Regions from separate parts of the Homo sapiens genome. Here regions 1 and 2 are each linked to region 3. The links are contacts of gene promoters, found by promoter capture Hi-C in human tissues and cell types (Jung and others, 2019). All regions are on one chromosome and are shown on one strand. The core of a region is centred on a gene start or on the middle of the fragment in contact, and the rest is flanking DNA. Distances in the headings are between cores, read along the strand shown.

The links. The method cuts DNA at HindIII sites, captures the fragments that hold promoters and counts their contacts. A contact is called where the count stands out against the background at its distance.
Region 1: a contact is called between a fragment that was not itself captured here and the fragment with the promoter of PAIP2 in region 3, in 1 of the 25 tissues and cell types used here (hippocampus).
Region 2: a contact is called between a fragment that was not itself captured here and the fragment with the promoter of PAIP2 in region 3, in 1 of the 25 tissues and cell types used here (heart left ventricle).

Annotation. Positions count from the first base shown.
Region 1 is chr5:137,931,370-137,934,337 of GRCh38, reverse strand. The region is part of intron 12 of PKD2L2 (polycystin 2 like 2, transient receptor potential cation channel); the gene reads right to left. Among named protein-coding and RNA genes, the nearest start is that of PKD2L2, 43 kb to the right of the region's middle. The HindIII fragment of the contact is 3,022 bases long and covers 1-2,940 here.
Region 2 is chr5:138,221,755-138,224,815 of GRCh38, reverse strand. No RefSeq gene overlaps it. Among named protein-coding and RNA genes, the nearest start is that of CDC23, 10 kb to the right of the region's middle. The HindIII fragment of the contact is 4,119 bases long and covers 1-3,061 here.
Region 3 is chr5:139,340,290-139,343,329 of GRCh38, reverse strand. It overlaps PAIP2 (poly(A) binding protein interacting protein 2), which reads right to left and starts at 1,476. Exons shown (of 4, transcript NM_016480.5): 1 at 1,350-1,476. The HindIII fragment of the contact is 8,924 bases long and covers 1-3,040 here.

The DNA.
Region 1 (2,968 bases), core at 180-2,679, 1.4 Mb after region 3:
CTATGCATAGTAAACTTATTTTAAAAACCCGTCTCAGCCATCACTCTTTTTGTGAAGCCTTCCTTGACACTTAGAGGAAAGTGGTACCTTTCCTCATAAGCTGAGCACCAACTCTTTGGTGACCCTTGCTCCAAGCTCCTACGTCCTGCTCGCCCTACCACCTTCCCTTGTGGTAGCTGCCTCCTGCAGTTAGTTGTCTCTGGATGATCTTCATGTTCATATTGGCCCTTACACTCCTGCAATATCTCAGAAGCAAATTCTGTATACCAAACTCCCTCTTTTTAAATTACCTAAGTGATTTCTGTTTTTCTGACAACTCTTAACTGATGAATAATTGGTAGCAGGGGAGACCCAAAGAAATAGACCCTCATAGATTGCATGCTTCCACCAAGGGGCACAACAATTGACTTAAACTGAATTTGAGACTGCCACTTGACCGTTTGGGATTCCTCATGCCTACAGAACCAGCAGGGAAAGAAGTGGTTATTTATGTGTTGAGGTGATTGATGCGAATTACCAAGGGGAAATTGGATTACTGCCACAAACTAGCACAGAGCAGACTGTGCCCAAGGGATTCTCTGGTATGCCTCTTAATACTTAGATGTCCAAAAGTAAAAGGTAATGGGAAACCACAGCATTCTGTTAAAGGCAGGACCACTGAGAGTTCAGATTCTGAACTAATTAAGGTTATTCCTAATGCAGCTGGCTGAGCTCTTGGCTGTAGGCAAAGGGAATGATACGGAATGGGTAGGAGAAGGAAGTTATAAATACCAACTGTAGCCTTGTAATCTGTTACAGAAACAAAGACTGTAGCCCTATTCCTATTTCCTTCTTTGCTTGTTATGTGTATATTTTCTTTCTCCTTTATCTAAGGAATACTGGTGGTGGCTAACTGTAGTTTAAACATTAGGTTGCAAAGTATTCTTAAGGAATTGTGATTCAACTAGAAGAGGTCATAATATCCACAGATGGATACAATTACTGTTGGGACTTTGCTTCTCCCTTTTTAGGGAGAAGGTGAAAGTACCTTCATTTGTATAAAGGATAGTTTGATCTTACTGGATAGAAGCTTGGAATCATCATTTTATGGAAGTGCAAATGTGTATGCCACAGGAGTGGAATGGACCAACTGTTCAGCTCAAAATTTACCCTCTTATACTCTGTGATGTTGGGTTTTAGGCTTTGTAAGCTTCATTCCCTAAACTGTTAATACCTGGATTCCTGTTAGATTCTGCCAGTATTTGCAGGATAGAGGGGAGAAAGGTCGTGGGTTTTTTTTTTTTTTTTGGTTTGTTTTGTTTTTTGTTCTGTTTCTATTGGCACTGCTTATGCAATGGTAGTTATCTCCAGCAACAGTGGCTCTAGCTGTAGCATCTAGCTGCTTTTGGCATACTCAGAAGCAGCCTCATCACACCCACTCAAGAAGTACAGATTGAGTATCCCTAATCGGAAATCTGAAGTGTTCAAAATCCAAAACTTTAGCACCTCGATGACTCTCAAAGGAAATGCTCACTGGAGCATTTTGGATTTCAAATTTTTGAATTAGGAATGCGGAACCAGTAGGTATATAATGCAGATATTCCAACATCCAAAAAAAATCTGAACTCTAAAACACTTCTGGGTCCCAAGCATTTTGGATAAAGAATACTTAACCTTTATCAGCAGCAGCAGTGAGGTACCTTCTCATCACAGGACTGAGCAACAGCTCCACAAGCCCCTTCTCTAAGATAGTAGGTTCTAGTAACACCACCTTTTGTAATCTTAGCCCTAGGAGTGGTAACCTCTTCCTGCAGTCATTATTTATGAGTTGTCTCAGTGTTATCATTTCACTTTTTTCTGTCTTTTAATACCTGTGTAGTAATCAATTCACTGTAGTATATTTTCTCTATTTGAAATACATATTATGGTTTCTTTCTGAGTGGGCTCTGATTGTTAGATGTAGTACGTTTTCTCATTTGGTCAGGTGTATTTTTGTGTCTTTTTTTTTTTGAGACAGAGTTTCGCTCTTGTTGTCCAGGCTGGAGTGCAGTGGCGTGATCTTGGCTCACTGCAACCTCCACCTCCTGGGTTCAAGCAATTCTCCTGCCTCAGCCTCCCAAGTAGCTGGGATTACAGGTGCACACCACCACGCCTGGCTAATTTTGTATTTTTTAGTAGAGATGGGGTTTCACCATGTTCACCAAACTCCTGACCTCAAGTGATCCACCCGCCTCAAGTGTCCCAAAGTGCTGGGATTACAGGTATGAACCACCATGCCCGGTATTTTTGTGTCTTTAAGGAATGTTTAAAGTTTTTTATCTTGGTTTTGAACATTTTGTTAATTGCTGGGCATTTTCTACTTTGTTGCTGTTACAAATAAGGTCTTCTATTATAATTTTTACCAAACCAATTGATGTTTGCATATATGACATTTATGTAAATTATTTTTCCTACCAGTTTACCTAATTATCTTTTTATTGTAATTTTTCAGATCATCATATACCTAGAAAATTGAAGAGAATCATAAGTAAAGGCAGTTTTACTTTTTTCAATTAGAAATACCTCTAATGTAGTTCTCTTATCTAATTGTTTTGACTTTACCCCTCCAATACATCACTATCTTGTCCCTGACATGTTCAATGTTTTCCTATTAAGTAAGGTGAAGAGGATAAGATCAATGTTTTTATCATATCAAGGAAATATCATTGATTTTTATTTTTCCCCTCAAGATTGGGTGTTGAAACTTATAAAATACCCAGCATTTGTGGAAAATGATCATGCAGTTTTCCTTTTTTAATGCAATGAATTACGTTGATTAGTTGATTACCCAATTTTGAACCATCTTTTCATGCCTAAAATAAATACTATCTGAATCTTCATATATTATTGTGTGCTGTTAGATTCTATCTGCTAATATTTAGGATTTTTGCTTTAAGATGTATACATGAGATTTCCTGTTTTTGGCACAATATATAGTAGTTTCATAAAC
Region 2 (3,061 bases), core at 208-2,707, 1.1 Mb after region 3:
CCACTGGATCATCTTCCCCAGACAGACGAAGAGGCCGAGCAACACAGTGATGTCAGCCCCATCAATTCTCCCTCTTTCTAAAGGTTCTCAGCAGTAACCTTGGAGGTGAGGCATCCTTAGGGGAACTTTACTGAGTAATAGGGATAAAGGACACTGGGAAGGGGGGTTACCAAAGCTGGGCTACACAAGGCTGAGAGCCCCCGATGAGCAGAGCTGGCAGTGAGGCCTCCCATTACATCCTAGGGCCATTACCTTGGGGAGATGGAATTGGACAAGCCTGCCTTTCCATTATGCAAAGAAAGGGCTTTTCAAGTAAATTTCCATTTAAGTATGAGCTTAGATCAGTGAAGATGGGGTCATAATAGCTTTGATGGTCATCACAACTATTAAAAATACATTTTTTCCTCGTGCTCAGCCTGCTTTGTCATCTTCATATTGTTCATCCCCAAAAGACTGTAACTCAACCTTTTCCTAGCTTCTAGGAGACAGGTTAATGTCCACAGGTATTTTCAACTCTTTAATTTTTCAACATACATAGTAGATGAAATTTACATGCTTGACACGGCCCATGGATGTATCCAGAATGTGATAAAAAAACAAAAACTAAAAGTCAGTTTGGGAATGGAGGTGGGTGATGGGTTAAGTACAGCACACCGCTCATTGGTCATTGTCTATACTGCTGGGCTCTCTTCTCTTCAGACCATCTGGTGTTGCCTGATTAGGTCCTCAGATACATATAGTTCCCTGCTTAGGTCCTCAGATACATATAGTTCTTAACCTGCTGTCTCTGCTGCCTGAATGCTCTTCCCCTATGCTCTACCGGGCTGACTCTAGGTCTATCTCCAGGTCTTAGCTGGACTAATTTCTTCAAGGAAGCCTCCTCTGATCCACTCCTCTAGCCCTAGACCAGGTTAGGGCCTTGTATTGGTTGTCTATCATTGCATAATAACCCCCAACCATGTATTTGCTCATTTTTCTGCAATTCTGACTGGGTTCAGTCTTGCCTGGGGTCACTTCTGCAGCTGCAGTCAGTTGTCAGGTTGACTGGGTGCTGGCTGTTCCTGCATAGCCTCACTCATCTATCTGAAGCCTCAGCCGGAATGGTGGGAACCACTGGGACAGCTGGAATATCTGGGACAGCTAAGAGGCTAACCTGGTTCCTTCAGGGCAGCAAGAGGGCAAGAGTTAAAGTTGCAAGGTCCCTTGAAACTGAGGCTCAGAAGTCACATAACATCCCTTTCACTGCTTTCTATTGGTTAAAGCAAGTCACAGGGCTAACACAGATTCAAAGGCAGGGACACAGACTCACCGCTTGATGCAAAGTCATATTGTAAAGGGGCACATATCCAGGGATGGAGGACTTATGGCCATCTTTGCCCACAGCCTGGCACAGGCCTCCTATCATAGCTTCTTAAGCTTTTCCTTCACTGCACTTATGGTAACTGTTGTTACATAATTCTTTGTATGATTGTTTATCATCTTTCTCCCCCACTAGAAAAAAATGTCTGAGTGCAGGAATTGACTGTTTCATTCAACAGTCTATTCCCAGAGCTTGGCACATAGTAACAACTAGATAAATTGTAGTTAAATGAATACATGGACAGCACCCACCTCCTTCCTACCCACTGCCACCTCCAACAAATAATTAACCAGCTCAAAATATCAATAATGCCTAAGTCAAGAAACCTTGCTGGGAACTGACTGTTCTTTCAGTTCTCATCGGGCTTAGATTTAGTAAGTTCTTTAGCCTCTCTCTACTTTGGTCTCTGGTGTCTGGTCCCACATCGCTCTTGAGCAAACACCTTTTCCGGTCAAGCCCTTTGAAGAGCGGGGAGGGAGGGAATGGTTCCATCTGTCGGACAAAGCCGGGATCACAGAAGAAAAAGGCAATTGAGTTTTTTCCAGGAAGGACTTTAGGTGAGGATCAGCCTTGACCAGACTACAGCCCCCAAGGAACGCTGGAGAACATTCAGTGGGGCAGCACGCGACTGGATAAAGTTGTTCGCGACGTTGTCATGTGTGACAAACTTGGGAGTGGTATTTAGAAGCTTGAAGTGCTTTCTTTCTTATTCTTTTTTTTTTTTTTTTTTTTTTTTTTGAGACGGAGTCTCGCTCTGTCACCAGGCTAGAGTGCTGTGGTGCGATCTCAGCTCACTGCAACCTCCAACTCCCTGGTTCAAGGGATTCTCCTGCCTCAGCCTCCAGAGTAGCTGGGATTATAGGCATGTGCCACCACGCCCAGCTAATTTTTGTATTTTTAGTGCAGATGGGGTTTCACCATGTTGGCCAGGATGGTCTCGGTTTCCTGATCTCATGATCCACCAGCCTCGGCCTCCCAAAGTGTTGGGATTACAGGCATGAGCCACCACGCCCAGCCCCTTCTTATTCTTTATTATTTTGAGATAGAGTCTCAATCAGTCAGCCAGGCTGGTGTGCAGTGGTGCAATTTCAGCTCACTGCAGCCTTGACCTCTTGGGCTCAAGAGATTCTCCTGCCTCAGCCTTTTGAGTAGCTAGGATTATAGGAGCATGCCACCACACCTGGCTAAGTTTTGTATTTTTTTATAGAGATAGGGTTTTGCCATGTTGTCCAGGCTGGTCATGAACTCTTGAGTTCAAGCAGTCCACCCACCTTGGCCTCCCAAGGTAGGAGTCATGGTGCCTGGCCGACAGTGACTTCTTAATTCTTCATTACATCACTGCCTTTTGATGTATTTATTGTTTTTTATTAAATTTTTTTAATTAAAAAAAATTTTAATCTATTTATTTAGGGACTGGGTTATGAGACTGGCCAATCTTTGTGTTTTTGGTAGAGACAGGGTTTCGCCATGTTGCCCAGGCTGGTCTCAAACTCCTGGGCTCAAGTGATCCACTTGCCTAGACATCCCAAAGTGCTAGGATTACAGGCATGAGCCGTAGTGCCCAGCCTGTATTTATTATTAATAAACCAAAAACAAGGAAGTCACTCTCTCCCTTCTAACTTTTTTTTTTTTTGAGGCAGAGTCTCACCGTATCGCCCAGGCTGGAGTGCAATGGCACAATCTCAGCTCACTGCAACCTCT
Region 3 (3,040 bases), core at 227-2,726:
CTTAAAGAAACACAAGTGGGTTCTATAGTTCTTGTCAAGTTACCTATCCTGTGATTTTGTGTGTGTGTGAAAAAGTTTTATTCAAGTTCACAACTGACAAGTAGTATAAACAGACTAATTTTCCCCAAATATCCTGTCTTTCACTAACTGGAAACAGAATCACAAAAGCAAATAGTGGAGTCTCATTAAAAATTATTGTAGAGAACTTTTACTTATTGCAAACACAACCTACGCCAGAAGAAATTTCAAAAGCGACTTAATGAAAATATAAACCAACACCTGATCTAACTGTGCTAATGAAATCTGTGAAAAAACAATGCCACCACGTTTCAACATTAGCCAGCACACCCAACATGAACATCTACTTTCCGTTGAAATAAACGTCAAAGGCTGTCAGCTGCTACACCTTCCAAGGCAAATTGGAAGCCAAATTCTTTCTAGAGTTTGGGGTTTTTATGAGTTGATACGGGTGCCAAATCAGGGAAAAAAGAAACAAAAGGAAGCAGGTAAGACCCCTTTTAGGAGTCCCTAAAAAATATCACTGCTGGCTGCTGCAACAAATGTTTTGAAGACCTAAGTTCACCACAAGCCTTATTTATTTCTGGTGGCGATGGTGGGGAAGGAGGAGAGTAAGCACAGAAAATTATTAAAAGGTAAGAGGACCTTAAAGTTCATCTAACTCAACGCCCTCCTAGGGTAAGGGTTCCCAGTACCCCAAAGGTTCTTTTTTCCAGGGCATGAGCTGCAATACAACCAAAAATAAGGGGTAGCGATGGCGAAGAAACGGGAGAAAGACGATCTTCTGATCAGGCCCGTCGACGGTTGCAGCGTTCCCCCAAGACGCCAAGAGCCCGCCAGTCCCTCCGCCCCTCTCTCCCCAAACCCCAGCCTCGGCTGAGGCGCGCACGCGCAGCAAGTAGGGGCTGCGCGTGGCGACGCGCAGGCGTAAAGTGGGTAGAAACAATAAGCTTTGTTGCCGAGGCGGTGGGAGGGGGGCAGGGGAAAGGGTACCCGGCGGAGGGATAAAGGACCGGGAGAATGAGGAACAGGAGAAAGTGCTATCCCGGCAACCCTCGCGCCACTGAGGACCCGGATAGAGAGCTGCGAGATCCAAATCATTAATAATGACAATGAAAAAAAAGCGACGGCCATGTCTCGGAGAAGACAGAGACGAAGTCGGCCCAAGCTCATCCCTCAGACTTGGTGGAAAGAGGCAATGAACAACGGAGGCCGCAATGGACTCGGTGGCCAACCACCCAGGGAACCCTTTAGGCCCCTCTGCCGTCGCCGACTTGCTGTCCCTCGACCTCCGCACCCCTGTCGCCACTCTGCCCGAGAGGACCCCTCACCCAATGCACAGCAGCGGGGACGGCAGCCAACGAATCCTGTCGGCCTCCGCGGATCTCCACAGGCAGCGCCGCTCCCCCGCTCGACGTGCGCTTCGCCCGCCGCCTCCCTTCTCCAGTCCAAACAAACACCCCAGCCCGGAAGTGACTTCACTTCCGTCGCCGCCAACCCCGCCCTCTTGTTCTGTCAGCTCTGCCCTCCGAAGCCACTAGAGAGCGCGCGCGAGAACGCGCGACCCCGAAGTCTGTCTCCAAGGCTGCACACGTGTGCACGCGCAGCAGCCTTTCCAGCGCGCCCCTACGGCCGGCTGCCGGGTGTAGCAGGAACGCTGTCGCACGTTCTCTCTGGAAGGCAGGAATGGGGGCGTACCACTGTTCCCACACCCGCCCATCTTCCGAGAATGATGATATGCAATGAGTGAGGCAGCTGGGGACTGAAGAGCACCCTGACAAGATACACAGGCGTGGACTTTCACAGACATCACACACCCCCCCAAAAACGTAATATTTAGGTAATGACATAGCACACACATACCCATACACACCCCAAGAATGATACACAATGTCACACAAACAGCGACATGCACCGAGTCACGTCAAGATCCTGACACAGAAAAATAATAAACTAAGGGAAATCACAGAGGCGTACTAAATGATATGCAAACATCCGCACTCAGACATGTGCAGGCACAAAAACACACTTTTTGAAGCTGGATGCAAACGCAAAATACAAATACATGTGCAACTTCTTTGTGGCTAAAGGAGGAAATGCCCTGTCCACACAGGATAGAAAAGTGTGACCTCCGGGTTCAAGAATTTTGTAGTCCGTGATCCTGGGTGCACTGGCCCCATAGTTATTCTTACCCATGCTTCCTTCCTGTCATCGTTGACAAGCCCCAAGATATATTTCTAGTGACACTAAGCAATGTAAAGAAGAGAGTATGTTTTTGTTTTTTTGTTTTGTTTTGTTTTTTTGAGGCGGAGTCTGGCTCTCTTGCCCAGGCTGGAGTGCAGTGGCGCCATCTCGGCTCACTGCAACCTCCGCCTCCCGGGTTCAAGAGATTCTCCTGCCACAGCCTCCCAAGTAGCTGGGACTACAGGCGCACGCCAGCACACCCGGCCAATTTTTGTACTTTTAGTAGAGATAGGGGTTTCACCGTGTTGGCCAGGATGGTCTCGATCTCCTGACCTCGTGATCCACCCGCCTCCGCCTCTCAAAGTGCTAGGATTACAGGTGTGAGCCACCGCACCCGGCCGAGAGTATGTGTTTTACAAATCTGGATGTTCAAATGTGTAGATACTATCTTTGAAAAAGGGACACAAACTAATTTCTTCCCTTTGGAGAGGGCAAATGACCGACTAGGAAATGGGTGCAAATAACTATCCTTTTCTCCTGAAAAATTTGAATCTTTTAAAAACTATATGCTTGTAGTATTTACTAAGACAAAAAATTCCCTCCATGGGAAGGCTTGAATTTAGAAACCGGGTTGTTCCTCTTCAGAGCTATTTCATTCACTGAATACTCTTCTGGGCCAGTCCAAAGCCCCAAAGAAATGAATGCAGATGGTTCTGCCCTAGCTCCTGGGTCAACCACCTTGGCAGCACTTACAGATCTATATTCTAAACTGTGAAGATAAGCTATCAATCTGAGGCTGAAGGAAGTCTGAACATAACAAAATAGGTATTTATATAGT